Linked DNA regions of Homo sapiens: region 2 is linked to region 1. Evidence: promoter capture Hi-C in human tissues and cell types (Jung and others, 2019). All regions are on one chromosome and are shown on one strand. The core of a region is centred on a gene start or on the middle of the fragment in contact, and the rest is flanking DNA. Distances in the headings are between cores, read along the strand shown.

The links. Contacts are between HindIII fragments. The study calls those that stand out against the background at their distance.
Region 2: a contact is called between a fragment that was not itself captured here and the fragment with the promoter of WNT5A in region 1, in 1 of the 25 tissues and cell types used here (IMR-90 fibroblasts).

The regions. Positions count from the first base shown.
Region 1 is chr3:55,484,826-55,491,622 of GRCh38, forward strand. It overlaps WNT5A (Wnt family member 5A), which reads right to left and starts at 2,481. Exons shown (of 5, transcript NM_003392.7): 1 at 2,155-2,481. The coding sequence starts at 2,160. It overlaps WNT5A-AS1 (WNT5A antisense RNA 1), which reads left to right and starts at 2,793. Exons shown (of 2, transcript NR_046656.1): 1 at 2,793-3,054; 2 at 3,165-3,483. RefSeq lists enhancers at 4,105-4,615, 4,616-5,127, 5,690-6,797. The HindIII fragment of the contact is 9,126 bases long and covers 1-6,797 here.
Region 2 is chr3:55,633,649-55,639,955 of GRCh38, forward strand. The region is part of intron 17 of ERC2 (ELKS/RAB6-interacting/CAST family member 2); the gene reads right to left. Among named protein-coding and RNA genes, the nearest start is that of ERC2-IT1, 23 kb to the right of the region's middle. The HindIII fragment of the contact is 3,265 bases long and covers 1,436-4,700 here.

The DNA of each region.
Region 1 (6,797 bases), core at 1,231-3,730:
AATGAAATGATAGTCCAACCCCCACTCTTTAAAGGTAGTTTCTCTCCCACTTTTTAATAGACGATTAAAGTGAGGCGAAAAGCGGGAAAGCAACACTTGTTCTCGATCATAGAGAGTTGGGAGGCAGCTGAGGCCAGACCCGAGGCCTCCTAGGGCGACACTCTCCTTCCCAAGCCCAGAAGAAGAGGTACCAACCCTGTGTCCAGCTGGCCGAGTCCCATTTGCTGGGCTGGACCCGTGGCCCCTTCCGTATTGCAGCGGCCGGCGGCGCAGCGAAACTGGTCCTCTGGGGGCCTCCGAGGGCCCCTGCTGGGAGAGTGGGGTCTGGTGGTCGGGAGGGATGAAGGGAGCAGGGGTGGGAGGGAGAGGGGAGCAGCTGCCCGCCCGCCCGCCCCAAGGAACCGAGGCTCGCAGGAGTCCTACCTCAAGGCGGCCAACAGGGGGCAGCCGGCACCGCACCGCGGGGAAGAAAAGGCCGCGGGGATGGCTCCGAGTTCTGCGCGCATAGTGCTAACCCCTTGAGCACCGGAGCGCACGGGGGAGGGGAGGAGAAGACAGGGGACTCTTGGGCCGGGCCTCCTGGGGAGGGTCTTCCGTTGAGAGGGTCGGGGGGTGGAGGAGACGAAGGCTACTACGTCCTGGACCCGAGAACAACTCCCCTACACACACAAACACACACGCACACACACGCAGCCAAGGATCCACACACTCGGACACACACACATTTGTCGGCCCGCGGTTCGCTGCGCACTCTCCGCATTGCCCCCTCGAAACTCCCCTGGCAGAGTCTGTCTAGAAACTAAATCTGGCTGGTTCGGCAGTGAATGTGCGAAGGTGGCTGGGGGGAGGGCAGGGGCTGAGGAGGTGCGACCTCACCGCAAGGCCCAAGTTACTTCCAAACAGCGAATTACCCATTTAAAGAGAGAAGAGAGAAAAGAGAGGCGAGAGAGGAGAAGGGGCCTCGATACCAGACAGGGATTAGAAAGTCAAACAGGGCCGTGGGGTCTCCAGACTTGAAGTTTTTTGTTGTTGTTTTTTTTAACTTTTTGGGGGGAAGAGGGGTTATTTGCTTCCAGGAAACATCTTAATTTCAATTCTAACCTTATTTTCTAAGAAACTTAAAATGGGAAAGACCAGAAAAATGGAAATAGGAATCGAAGCTTGGAGGACAGATAAGAAAAATTGTTTAGAAAATAAAAACTTATGTTGCAGGAAGAAACGTTAACTTTTCGTAAAAGTGAACTCTCAGTGACCCTCGGAGTGTGTGATTCGGCTTTAACATACAACTGACAATTAAAACAAACAAGAGTTCGCAAACTGGCCCCCGCCTGCTCTCCCAAAGCGGAGGCCCAAGTGTTTTCTAAAGGACAAGGCGGACTCCGCTCAGGGGGCCGGGGAGCGCTGTCCCGGAGTACGGGATTACAGCCACTACCACCACAACTCCCCGCCCCCACCACTGCTGCAAAGTGCCTGAGCTCACCCAGTGGCGGCTAATAATGCTAATAACGCGACCCCGCTCCCCGCGCCGGGGTGCGCGCTGGCCCCCCGCCAGGCACTCTTAAAGGCAAAGGGGCCTGAAGCGCTCGAGTTACTCGGCCAAGGCAAGCCTACAATCTGGCCTCCGTCGGTGCGGGGGGGTGTCGGGGAAGGTGTACGCCGCTCTGGAGTAGTTGGCCCCTAGTTCCTCTGCGGGTTCTCTCAACCAAGGAGTCCCTTTCCCCATCCCGAGCCCCGGCCACACACCGTCCCGGTGCCCGCGCAGTGGGCGCTTGGTAAATATTTGTTGAATTGAATCATTATCCTGTTACTGAAATATACATAGTAAATTACACTCGATGTTCTCAGAGCAAAAGGAAAGTCGTCAGTGAACCGCACTCAGTTTGTCTACTATCGCTCTTCCCCACTTTTTCTCAAAAATCAAAATTGTTTGCAGAACGGGTGGTGCGACCAGAAGTGATCTCCTGGGACACTGAGGCAGTGCGCCCGGCGTGGAGGGCGAAGGGGTAGGGGTTCCTGCCAGCGACGCTGGAGTTCCAGCTTCTTCAGGCGGTTGGGGAAATGGAGGGATAGGAAGAGGCGAAGGGAACTCAGTTAACTTCCAACAGGGGGTGGGGGGAAGTAAAGAAAAAAAGTGGCAGCGCACTGAACACCTACCTTCATGGCGAGGGGGAGGGGGCGCGGGGAGGAAGTCGCCACCCGAGCGAGCGCAGCCGAGGAATCCGAGCGGAGCGACCGGGTTAAGCCTGGGGGGACGGTCAGGAGCAGGGCTGCGGAGTCCTCCGGCGCGCGTCCGGCGGGCGCAGTGAACCGGAGCTGAAGCGGGCACTGGCGCCCGGGCCTGGACTCCCGAGTTGGGGCAGAGCTGGGATGCGCCCAGGAATGGAGGGGGCGCGGACGCGCGCGAGCCGGCAGCAAGGGCAGGGCCTGGTCGGGGCGCAACTAGGGAGCCGCCGGTCCGGCGAGGGCGCGCAGGCAACTGTTCCACGGAGAGGCGCTCCGTTTCCAACGTCCATCAGCGACGGCGGTAATTAGGGCTTTCCAACCCCAAATGTGGGCGTGATTGTGCAAAAGACCTTACGACAAATAATAATAAAAAGAAATTCTTCACAAGAGGGTGAAAAAAATGTACCACTACTCAACTGTGGCCCGGGGCGGGGGAAGGGGGGCGATCTGTGCGCCCAGGTGCCCCCAGTTCATTCACACCACAGATTCTGCAAACTCTTGGCGGCTCACGCCTCCTGATCTCCAGCTCCTCCTCTCTGGGTCTGTAGCCGAAACGTCTGCTTCCAGACGCTGATCCTGCAGCCGCGAGTTAGTGTGGACGTCTCTGTACACACACAGACACACACCCCAACACACACACCCCCGCTGCAGCTTTGGGGCCACAGAACAATCAGGCGCGCATGGCTTTTTCTCCGGGAGATGCCGCTGAAAACGCACAAGTCGCCATCTGAGCTGCAAGAGTCAGCCCCAAATTGTGTCCTTTCATTTTAGGGTTCGGCAAAAACGGGGAGCAAAATAGGTGAAAGTCGCCCCGGAACTTATTGCTGTGCGGTGAGCTGGAGGGGTGCGACTAACCCAGGGGAGACGCGGGCTCCCCCCCCCCACCACGTATCCCGTTCTTTCTCTCTTCGGGTTGATCTCTCTTTTCCCCGTTTTTCCAGGGCGAAGGGCGAAGAGCAGCGAGTGCACCGCGGGCGCGAGGCTGGGGAAGGGCGAGAGCTCGGAGCTCCGCGGCGGCGACTCAGCTCCGGCGGTCCATGGCCGGCGAAGCTGCCCACCTCCTCGTTTGGCGCCCGGGTCCGAGGGGCGGGAGAGCGGGCCGGCGGGAGGCGGGCGGTCCCGGGCACAACGGCGGCGGCGGAAGGGCTCGCTGGGCAGCTGCCGCACGGACCCCGGCTCTGGGCGGCGGAGGCGGCTCCGTGGAGCTCGCAGCAGATTTCCACGCGATCCTGTGCCCCGCAAACAGACTGACCGACCGCGGGGACGCGTCCCCCCCTCCCACCCCCCAGCCCTTCTGGCCAACTGCCTTACTCTCTCCCTCCCTCTCTCCAGACTCCTCTTTCCCCTGGTGTTCTCAGAAGGAAGAAAAAAAAAAAAAGAAAGAAAGAAAGAAAGAAAAAAGTTCTTTAAAGTTTCAGAACTAGGGGCGGCTGGAAAGAGAGAGGGAAGGGGGGGGAAGAAAGAAAAAACTCAACTTTGCTATGCGCATGCGTGGTGAGGCCGGCCTATGACAAACTCTGCAGGATTTTAAAGCCGTACTACGGGCTGGGGTGCCGGGAGGCGGGGTACACTCTCCTTGTCTCCCCTTCTCTAAGTTCCCCATCCCCCGCGGCATCTGCTGAAAGAGAGAGGTCCACTCCGCAGCCGCTGCCTGCCTGCCGCCTGGTTGTCTGCGCTCCTTCCAGAGCCACCGACCGGCGGGAGGCTGAACCCCAACTTCCCCGCCTGGACCCCTTGGCTCGCCCGCGTATCCCAGACCGCTCCCACTGGGGCTCCACGGAGACTGCTGCCTTGACATGGAACCTCATGGGGGACCTCCTCATTCTTACCTCTGGGGGAGGATACTTAAGCACTGGGGCTGATGGATAGGGTTAGGCGCTCACCTCCTGCAAAGTCCCCAGAGTAGTAGGGACTTGGGTAGTGGGATGCATGATTGCTCATCTGGCTCCGGCCCAGAGCATGAGGCGCGATGCGTGGTCCTGCCACGGAGATCTTGGCGGGTGCCCTCAGGTGAGGAGATTGCGAAGTTTGGCAAAACCGGGTTCCGGGCACCGGAATTTCTAGACGCTTCCAGATGCCCGTGGTTTTGGGGACTCCGGAGGGGCAGGGTTGGTGGATTTGTGTCCGCTACCTCCAGCACGCCGAGGGCCCCACCCCACAAACAGTGCCTCACACTGGAGCGTAATAGTTATTTTCCGCCGTCTGCATTCTCCAGCTGTCAAAGGTGAAGACACACACACGCGCGCACACACACACACACACACACACACACACACTATTCAATTTTCTCCGTCCATTGGCATGCACTTGACCTTAAGGCGAAAAATCCGTGGCCTAGGTGTTTTGGTGTGGTGGCTGTTTTGTTTTGTTCCTCCAGTCCTCCCCCACCTCCACCCCCACACCCCAGAGGGCGCAGGCCCAGGCTCCAGCGATGCCGTTCCACCCTCCACAGCCCCTTCCCATTCCTTAATTTTCCTAGCCGACTGGACCCTTCCCCAGCCCTGGCCTCCTTCCTGGCGCGCAAAGATGGCAGTGTGAACTTCCCACCAAGTGCCAGAGACAGATGCTCCTGCTTAGCACCTCCCGCCTCCCACCAACTTGCTTTCTTTCCCCCAGGGCGTGTGCGGCCTTAAGGAGAGGGAATCCAAGGTTCTCAAAGCTCCCCTTGGGACATCTCCCCTTTACCTCCTGAGTCTCCATTCCTCTAACCTTCTCCTCTGTAAACCTTGACCACTTCCCGACCTGTGGGCATTTTACAGTCTTCGAATCTAACCTGAGATCTGCCCACCTGAGGAGGGTGTCTGAAAAAGAGCGTCTCCGCCCGGCAAATCGCCCCCAGGCTGCGTCCCTCCGCCCTTCCCCCTCTCCCTTGCCGTTCTGCCCAGTGGCCGCAGACTGAGATTCCCTGGCTGCGGGAGAGCATGTGCCTCCTAGGCAGACACTCCAGCCCCGCCCCGCGGGCAGGGATCTCCGGGACCCACCTTACGTGCAGCAGCTCCAAGAAGTGGCAGGATATGAGCTGACTATGAAAGGGGCTGCCAAAGGGCGCTCCCGAAGAATGGAGAAACTAGCATCCCAGTGTCCCAGAGTCCAAGGCAGTTCGTGTAGAGGATCCTATTCTATGAAGAAAAGGGCCGTTAACCTGGGCATTTCCTCCACACATACAGCCAGTCTAGAAATACTGGCTACCCAACCACAAACCTTTATTTTTTAATGGCTATTTTCTGAGTTATCTGGATAATCACCTGCTTCTCTCCAATTGCCTTTGCTTGTATAGACACAGCCCAAACAGTGCTATTTCCTGTTCTGCAGTCTTTCCTCTAGTGGAAGTCGGTGTTGGTTAGTGGTTAAGAGTGCCAGCTGTGGAATCTGGAGTTCCAGTCCCTGCCCTGCCACTTTCCAGCTGTCACACCTTGTCTAGCCTCTCAGCCAGCACTTCAGAACCCTCTTACACACAACAACAGCAACAACAGCAGCAAGCAGAAATTTCATGATCTACCTTGCAGAAATGCATTGAGAATGAAATGAGATGAGCTTGAAAATCAGGGCAGTACTGAGAATGAAACACGATATCTAGGAATGCTCTTAGCATGGGTCAGGCCCTTACCTGGCACTCAATGCCTGCTCTTCTAGAAAAAAAGCAGCTCTGAAAACAGAGGTTTTCAAACTCCTGTGGTGGTAAAACTGGACCTCACATGACAAGACATAATCTTGATTTATTCCACTTGCTAGGAATACTCTTCACTGAATGAATACAAATGCATTTGGTTACTGGGTATTTCCCCAGACCTCACTGGGCTGCTTGCAAATTAATAGCAATATGCCCCATTTTATTTTCCCAAAATTTCCAACAAAACCGTCTAGTCCCAAGGACTTCAGATAAAGAGTTGTTTTATCTGATAATATTAATAATTAGTGTGCTGAGATTATGCCCCAGGAGCAATAAGCTTCATGTCAGCAGGACCTCATCTGCGGTTTTCATGGCTGGAACCCCAGTCCTCAGAACAATGCCTGGCACTTAGTAGGTGCTTAGAAGTAACAACCACACGAATGGGCGAATGGATGAAAGAATTATTTCAGAGGACGGTGTTAAGGAGAACCAACTTGAAATCCCTTTTGACCCTTCAATAGTGGGTAGGGGTGGGGACTGCCTTAGAAAGCCAGGCTCAGTTGTAAGCACCAGTCCCATGATGGTGTTGATTGGTTTGGCTGGGAAATGAGCAGACAGTTGGAAGGAGAGAAACCAATGCCTCTCCATCTGTGAGGGTTCATGTTCGACAGACCTCCAGTTTGTGGAACTTCATGTTTCCCCTTGCAAACCGTGTGTGCATTTGGGTGTGTGCCTCAGATTGAGTCATCCGAAGATATACTGGCAAGGCATCACCACACTCTGCTCATTAAAAATGCTTCTGAATCTGTGGAACAAATAAATCAATATTTTTGGCTGCTCTCCCAACCGGATTATTCACAAAGCAGAGTGCAAGATAAGGAATTTATGAACGACTGCATCCCTGTGCCGCCTTTCCCAGCAGGGGAAAGCAGGGCCTGGGTTGTCATTCTGGGAAAATCTACCC
Region 2 (6,307 bases), core at 1,818-4,317, 150 kb after region 1:
GCCTGCTATTTGCAAACACTGGCCTAGACTCTGGAGCTGCAGCAGTGAGGATAATGGGTGAAATGTTTGCCTTTATGGAGCTTACATTCTGCTGAGTCCAGGAAGAGTGAATATATTTCTCCTTTCATATTTCATTCAAAGCAAAACTAAACCTTAAATGATTTCATCCTTCATTCTTTTTAATCAACACAAAGCTGACTGATGCACATCCCTCCAGTCCCCTTCGTTTCTCATCACAAAACACACCATGCCTGGGAGTCAAGGGTCCCGGGTGGGAAATGCCACATATTCTGCCCACCTCCCACATGGCCTCTATAGAGACTTCATTTGTGTTCCAAGATCAGGGGACTTGCCACTCCAAAGCAGCCCCTTCAGATGTGGTCAGTTTGTCAGCACATATCAAATGCAGCAGAGACCTCTGCATTAGGGCAGCTTAGCACAAAAGGGTCTGGTTCCCTCCTCTTCCTATGTATGTGGTTTTCAGGCAGCTCTGAAGGGGTGGTGAGGAATGCAGGTCACAGAATGCCCCAGACACGAAGACAGTTTATAAGAATCTGCCCATGCCATAAGTACTAGACAAAAGTTGAGTTTATTTTCCTTGAATATTACACTTTATGTATCCATGCATTCCCCCAGGATATCCAATGCACAGACTGCCTTGAAGCTACTTGGGATGTATGTAAACCATACATTCATGCTCCTACTATTTATTGGGACCAGCCTGCTCTATTTCTACGATCTTGGCCAAATTCTACCTATTGAATATTGTCAGTCCCGGCTGTAACATAATCCTGGCTGAGATTCACATGAAAGATGTAATCTTGACAAGCCATTTAGAATCTCTTCTAAAAAAACGTAAAAGCCAGCATTCTTCCAGAGGAATGAATCAGTCTGATAAAAATGTCTACGGGGGAAGCCTAATCAGTTCATACGAGAACCTGTCAGTAGAACCTCTACTTAGACTGTAAGATTAAACCATCTTCATAGTCATTAGAAGGAAGTGTGGTCCATTCGGCTAAGATGGTCTTCTCCTATTTCCAATTAGAAACTCTGGTTTGCATTTATCACATGGAGATGCTGGCAAAAGCTGTGTCTAGAATGAGCATTAAAAGGATAACGCAATCTCACTTTTGCTCACTAATAGTGGTTCATTTTTAACCTGTTAAAGCAGGAGGGCAACTCTTCCCTTTCCCATAGCACTTCAGAGTTCTCAAAGGGAAAACCTGTCTCACTTTATTATTTCTTTTTTTTTTTTGACGAGTCTCACTCTCTAGCCAGGCTGGAGTATGGTGGCACGATCTCGGCTTACTGCAACCTCCGCCTACTGGGTTCAAGCAATTATCCTGCCTCAGCCTCTTGAGTAGCTGGGACTACAGGTGCATGCCACCACACCCAGCTAATTTTTTATTTTTAGTAGAGACGGGGTTTCACCTTGTTGGCCAGGATGGTCTTGATCTCGTGACCTCGTGATCTGCCTGCCTGCCTCAGCCTACCAAAGTGCTGGGATTACAGGCGTGAGCCACCGTGCCCGGCCTATTATTTCTTTTTTCTACAAATCCTTTTTTTGACCTCTTATCCAGACAGTCATCTGCTGATTATTTTAAAGGTATGCGAATATTTAGACAAATCCTCCAAGATCTCTGTCAGGTTGGAACAGGAAATGCTTCCTGTCATTTTAATGTTTATAAACATTAGTGGTGAAATCATATCATTATGAGGGAAAACATTTTCAGATGATTTTTTTTCTTTCTTTTTTTTTTGTCTCTTTGTCTCGCTCTGTCACCCAGGCTGGAGTGCAGTGGCTCGATCTCAGCTCACTGCAACCTCTGCCTCCTAGGTTCAAGCAATTCTTGTACCTCAGCCTCCCAAGTAGCTGGGACTATAGACGTCCGCCACCACTCCTGGCTAATTTTTGCATTTGTAATAGAGACGGGGTTTTATCATGTTGGCCAAGCTGGTCTTGAACTCTTGGCCTCAAGTGATCCATCTGTCTTGGCCTCCCAAAGTGCTGGGATTACAGGTGTGAGCCACTGCGCCCAGCCTCAGATGATTTTCTGATATCATTTAAAGCAACTAGAGTTCAAGTTTAGAAACACGCATAATGAAGAATCATCTCAACCCAGCAGAGGCTCTCCCAAATAAGTGGCAACTTCACTCATCCATCACTTTAAATAGCAATCGTTCCCATCAGAGATTTTTTAATTTTTATTTTTATTTTATTTTATTTTATTTTATTTTGTTTTATTTTTTGAGATGGAGTCTCTCTGTCTCCTAGGCTGGAGTACAGTGGTGTGATCGGCTCACTGCAACCTCCGCCTCTGGGTTCAAGCTATTCTCCTGCCTCAGCCTCCCAAGTAGCTGGGATTACAGGACTGTGCCACCATGCCCGGCTAATTTTTATATCTTTAGTAGAGGCGGGGTTTCACCATACTGGCAAGGCTGGTCTTGAACTCCTGACCTCAGGTGATCCGCCCACCTCGGCCTCCCAAAGTGCTGGGATTACAGGCATGAGCCACTGCACCCAGCCTCCATCAGAGATTTATAAAAATGTATTTTCAACATTTTAATCTTTCTTCCTTTCTCACAGTAATCCATATTCACAGGGCAGAATAAGGACAAACATGGAACACACTGTCAAAGAGTAAGGCTGACAGTGCAGAGTCTGGAGACTAACAAGCCTGGTTCCAGTCCTTGTTCTGCTCCTTGCTGTTGTAACCTTGGGGAAATCATTCACGTTCCCTCAGCCTCCATTTCCCCACCTGCAAAATGGGGTAATAACATCATCGCCTCACACAGCTGTTATAAGATTGAGCACAGCACCTGGGACACTTTGTGGGCTTGGCACAGTGCATAGAGCACCTTAGATGATCAATAATTACATGTGTTCAATGAACAAATGAGTGCATCGATGACTGAATCTCTTCCTACCCAAACTATAATACACTAAATCAGGGGTCAGCAAACTTTTCCTGTAAGGAGCCAGCAAGTAAATATCTTAAGCTTTGCAGGCAATATGGTTTCTGTCGCAACTATTTACCTGTGTTGTGACATGAAACCAGCCACAGAAAATAAACGAAGAGGTGTGGCTGTGCTCCAACAAAACTTTATTTACAAAAACAGGCAGGGCACTGAATCTGGCCCGCAGCCCTACGGTTTGCAGACCTCTGTTCTAAAGGCCTACCTTGCTAATGACAAACCAGACCTGATTTGCAAAATAAGTGCTCAGTCATGACTTATAAGCCTAGTGTTAGACCAAATCACTCCAAGGGAAGCTAGGAGGCCATGAGAAGTCAGTCCCTCCTAGCTTCTCTCCAATCATTCACTGTGCCCTGTCACACACTTCCCGACCATTGCCAGGACCTGTTGTGGTCTCACAGGTGTGCCCGTTCACTCCTGTCTTCCTGTCCCTCTCCTGGGGACTGGCCCATCCAGTATAACAGCCTGTTGCACCCAGTTCCTCCTGGGATCAGGCCTGTGGCTGAGGCCCTGACAGGACAAAGGTCCTCCTGGAATGCTCCCCTTCTTTTCTTTCTCAAACCAATGATAGCACTCCTTTGTCCAAATCCTCAGAGTTGGGGATAGAAACTTTCTCATCTATGTCTAGGCAGAAAAATAGAAATGTAATTCCTTCTCATTCTCCCTTTCACCTGGAGAGTACAGAAACACACTGTGGAATATGGAAAGGCATGAACCAGAGCTGCTCAAAGGATGGGTGGGAGTGCGCTTAGGTAGCATCTCTACCTGCTGAGGACTCATCAGGTTCCAAGCACTGCCAGGGACCAGGCCCATGTGCAGAGGGAGAAGTGGAGTTCAGAAGGCATGAGGGGCTTGTGTGAAGGCACAGACTGGGAGCAGAGACTGGCATCCAGGCTGGGCTGACCGGGGTCTCCTCAACTCTAAAACCCAAGTTACTGCAAACTCTAAAATCCAAGTCTCTGCCCCTGGGTGCAAATGGCAGCTTGAATGCATTGAGTACTCACTGGAGCCAGCTTTCAAATGCAGTACAATTTGCAAGCATTTTACTTATTGATATGTTTAGTTTTTTTTGTTAACTCCCTACTAGACAATCAAGTCAAAAGAACCTGCTCTCTCTATCGAGCATCGTCACTGGCACACTGTAGGTGTTTATTACATATTTGTAGAATTTGTTAATAAAGAAAAATAATGTGAATACTAGATAGTAGTAGCTATCTACATGGGCTAAGAATTTGACATGCATTTTCTCACTGACCCCTCTGACTCAAGTTAGCTACTGTTATTTTTCCCATTTTATTGATGATAAAACTAAGGATCTGAAAGGTTAACACTTTTAGCCCAAGGTCAGAAAGCTAACAAATGGCAAAAGCAATAATTGAACCCAATTCTGTTAGGCTCTTAAGCCAGATTCCTCTTACTCCATTCATTTCTCCCCACACAATGATTTCCCTTGTCCCAAACCAGACAGTGAGCCCGCTGGCCCAGGGCCCCATTCCTCCCACAACAAAAAGTCATCTTTTCTCTTTCCCCCTGACCATGTTCATTCCTAGTGTCTGGAAACTGCCCTCACCTATAAAATCAGGATAATTTTCCATTGTCAACACACATCCCAACCTCCTCCATGGGGTTTTTGTGAGAATTAACCCCATTTGCAGCCATTAATTAAGCTGTTAAAAGCACAAGTAGCTTTTTCTCCATTTTTACATGGCTTCTCAAATGGTTAATGTCGAGTTCTTTCTTGGTGCAAGCACAAGGAGCTCATAACTTTTCAATGGATTATGAAAGTTATTCCCCGAGGGGCTCGGCAAAGCAGTCATCGTTGTGCATAGCTTTGGCATTACGTCAGTGAATTTAGTCCTTCCTGAGCTAATGGTGGTTCTTAATAATATTATTGGAATTATTATTACCTTCAATTAAAATGTTGGCCATGAATGACTTACTACTTCAGAGAGATTCCCCAAAGAGTCACGTTAGAGTCTGTAGTCTTTCTGCTAAAGGGCACCATAAGAACAGGAACCAGAGTCCTTGCCCATCCCCCAAGTAAATACATTAATTAATAAATACACAGCATTCAAATACTTTTATGTTGTTGGCTGGTTACCAGGTTTTAAATTGACTTCCTTAAGGGTGGATAGGGCTGGCTAATCACTACCACTTTGTTCTAAAAACTAAAAGGAAATCAGGAAAACTTTACGCATTGTTCTTTATTTCTACTCACCAAACTACATTAGAATAGTATTATTGGTACAGCTACAACCTTCACAGAATGACCTCCATCTTATCTTAGTGGAGATGGTGGACAGCACAGGGTTTGGTTTCAAAGACAATAAGATGAATGGTACCTGGTAAAAGCACTACCTATGACATCTCCCTTGACAATACCTGAGCGTTGAGAACACCCTATAGAAATGGCTTCAAAACCAGGCAAATTGCTCATTGGATTCAGGGTCGGTGAGCTATCTAACTCTGCATATGTGCATAGAGGTGGAGGAAGTTCTCAAACAAAGAGTTGAAAGAAGTGTGTAGGCTGGGTCAAAGAGGACTTTGGCTGTGTCCAGAATCTGATACTCAGACAGTATGAAAATGTGTCACCACTTCTAGGGAGACCAGGTAGGAGAAGAGCACTACCTTCATCCACAGGGAAAGTAGTGCTAGCATGTCCCAACCCCAAATGGACAGAGAGAGAACTATCTCAAGGGTGTGGTGATGCGTCTTGGAAATCCAGGTGCTGAACTGCAGGGGAGGAATATCTGAGGCCAGCGAAGACAATGTATTCACAATCAGGAGACTGGGGACCAGGACATGAGCCACAGAGAAGCCTGGGGAGCCTACAGGAGGGAGAGAAAGTATAGGCTGGAGACAAAGAGGAAGAAGAGTCTGGGACACACTGTCTGGCACAAAATAGACACAGAAATAGTTGTTGAATCAATGAACAAACAAGTGAATAACTGGGGGAGATCTAACATCCTAGCTTGGCCTGAAAGCTCTGTTGCTTAAATCTACGTCAGTCAGGAAAGATTTCCTGTGTAAATACCTTGGCTGATTTCGATCCTTATATTTAGAAAACCTGTCTCTTGCTTTTAACCCAACCAAACCTAATTCAATCTACTTGCCTGAATGTGTGATACTTTGGTTTTTGTGGGGTATGTGTGCGTGTGGGCACACGCACATGTGCATGCACACATGTTTAATTTTCATTTCTAATAAAATTAACTTAAACCCCTGTGTTGCCGATGAGTTTATCAAGGGCAGGAAGCAGATGTTTTCACACTTGGACCAAGGCTGAGGGAGAAGAGGTGGTGCGACACTCAAAGTCTCACCGTTGCCTCTA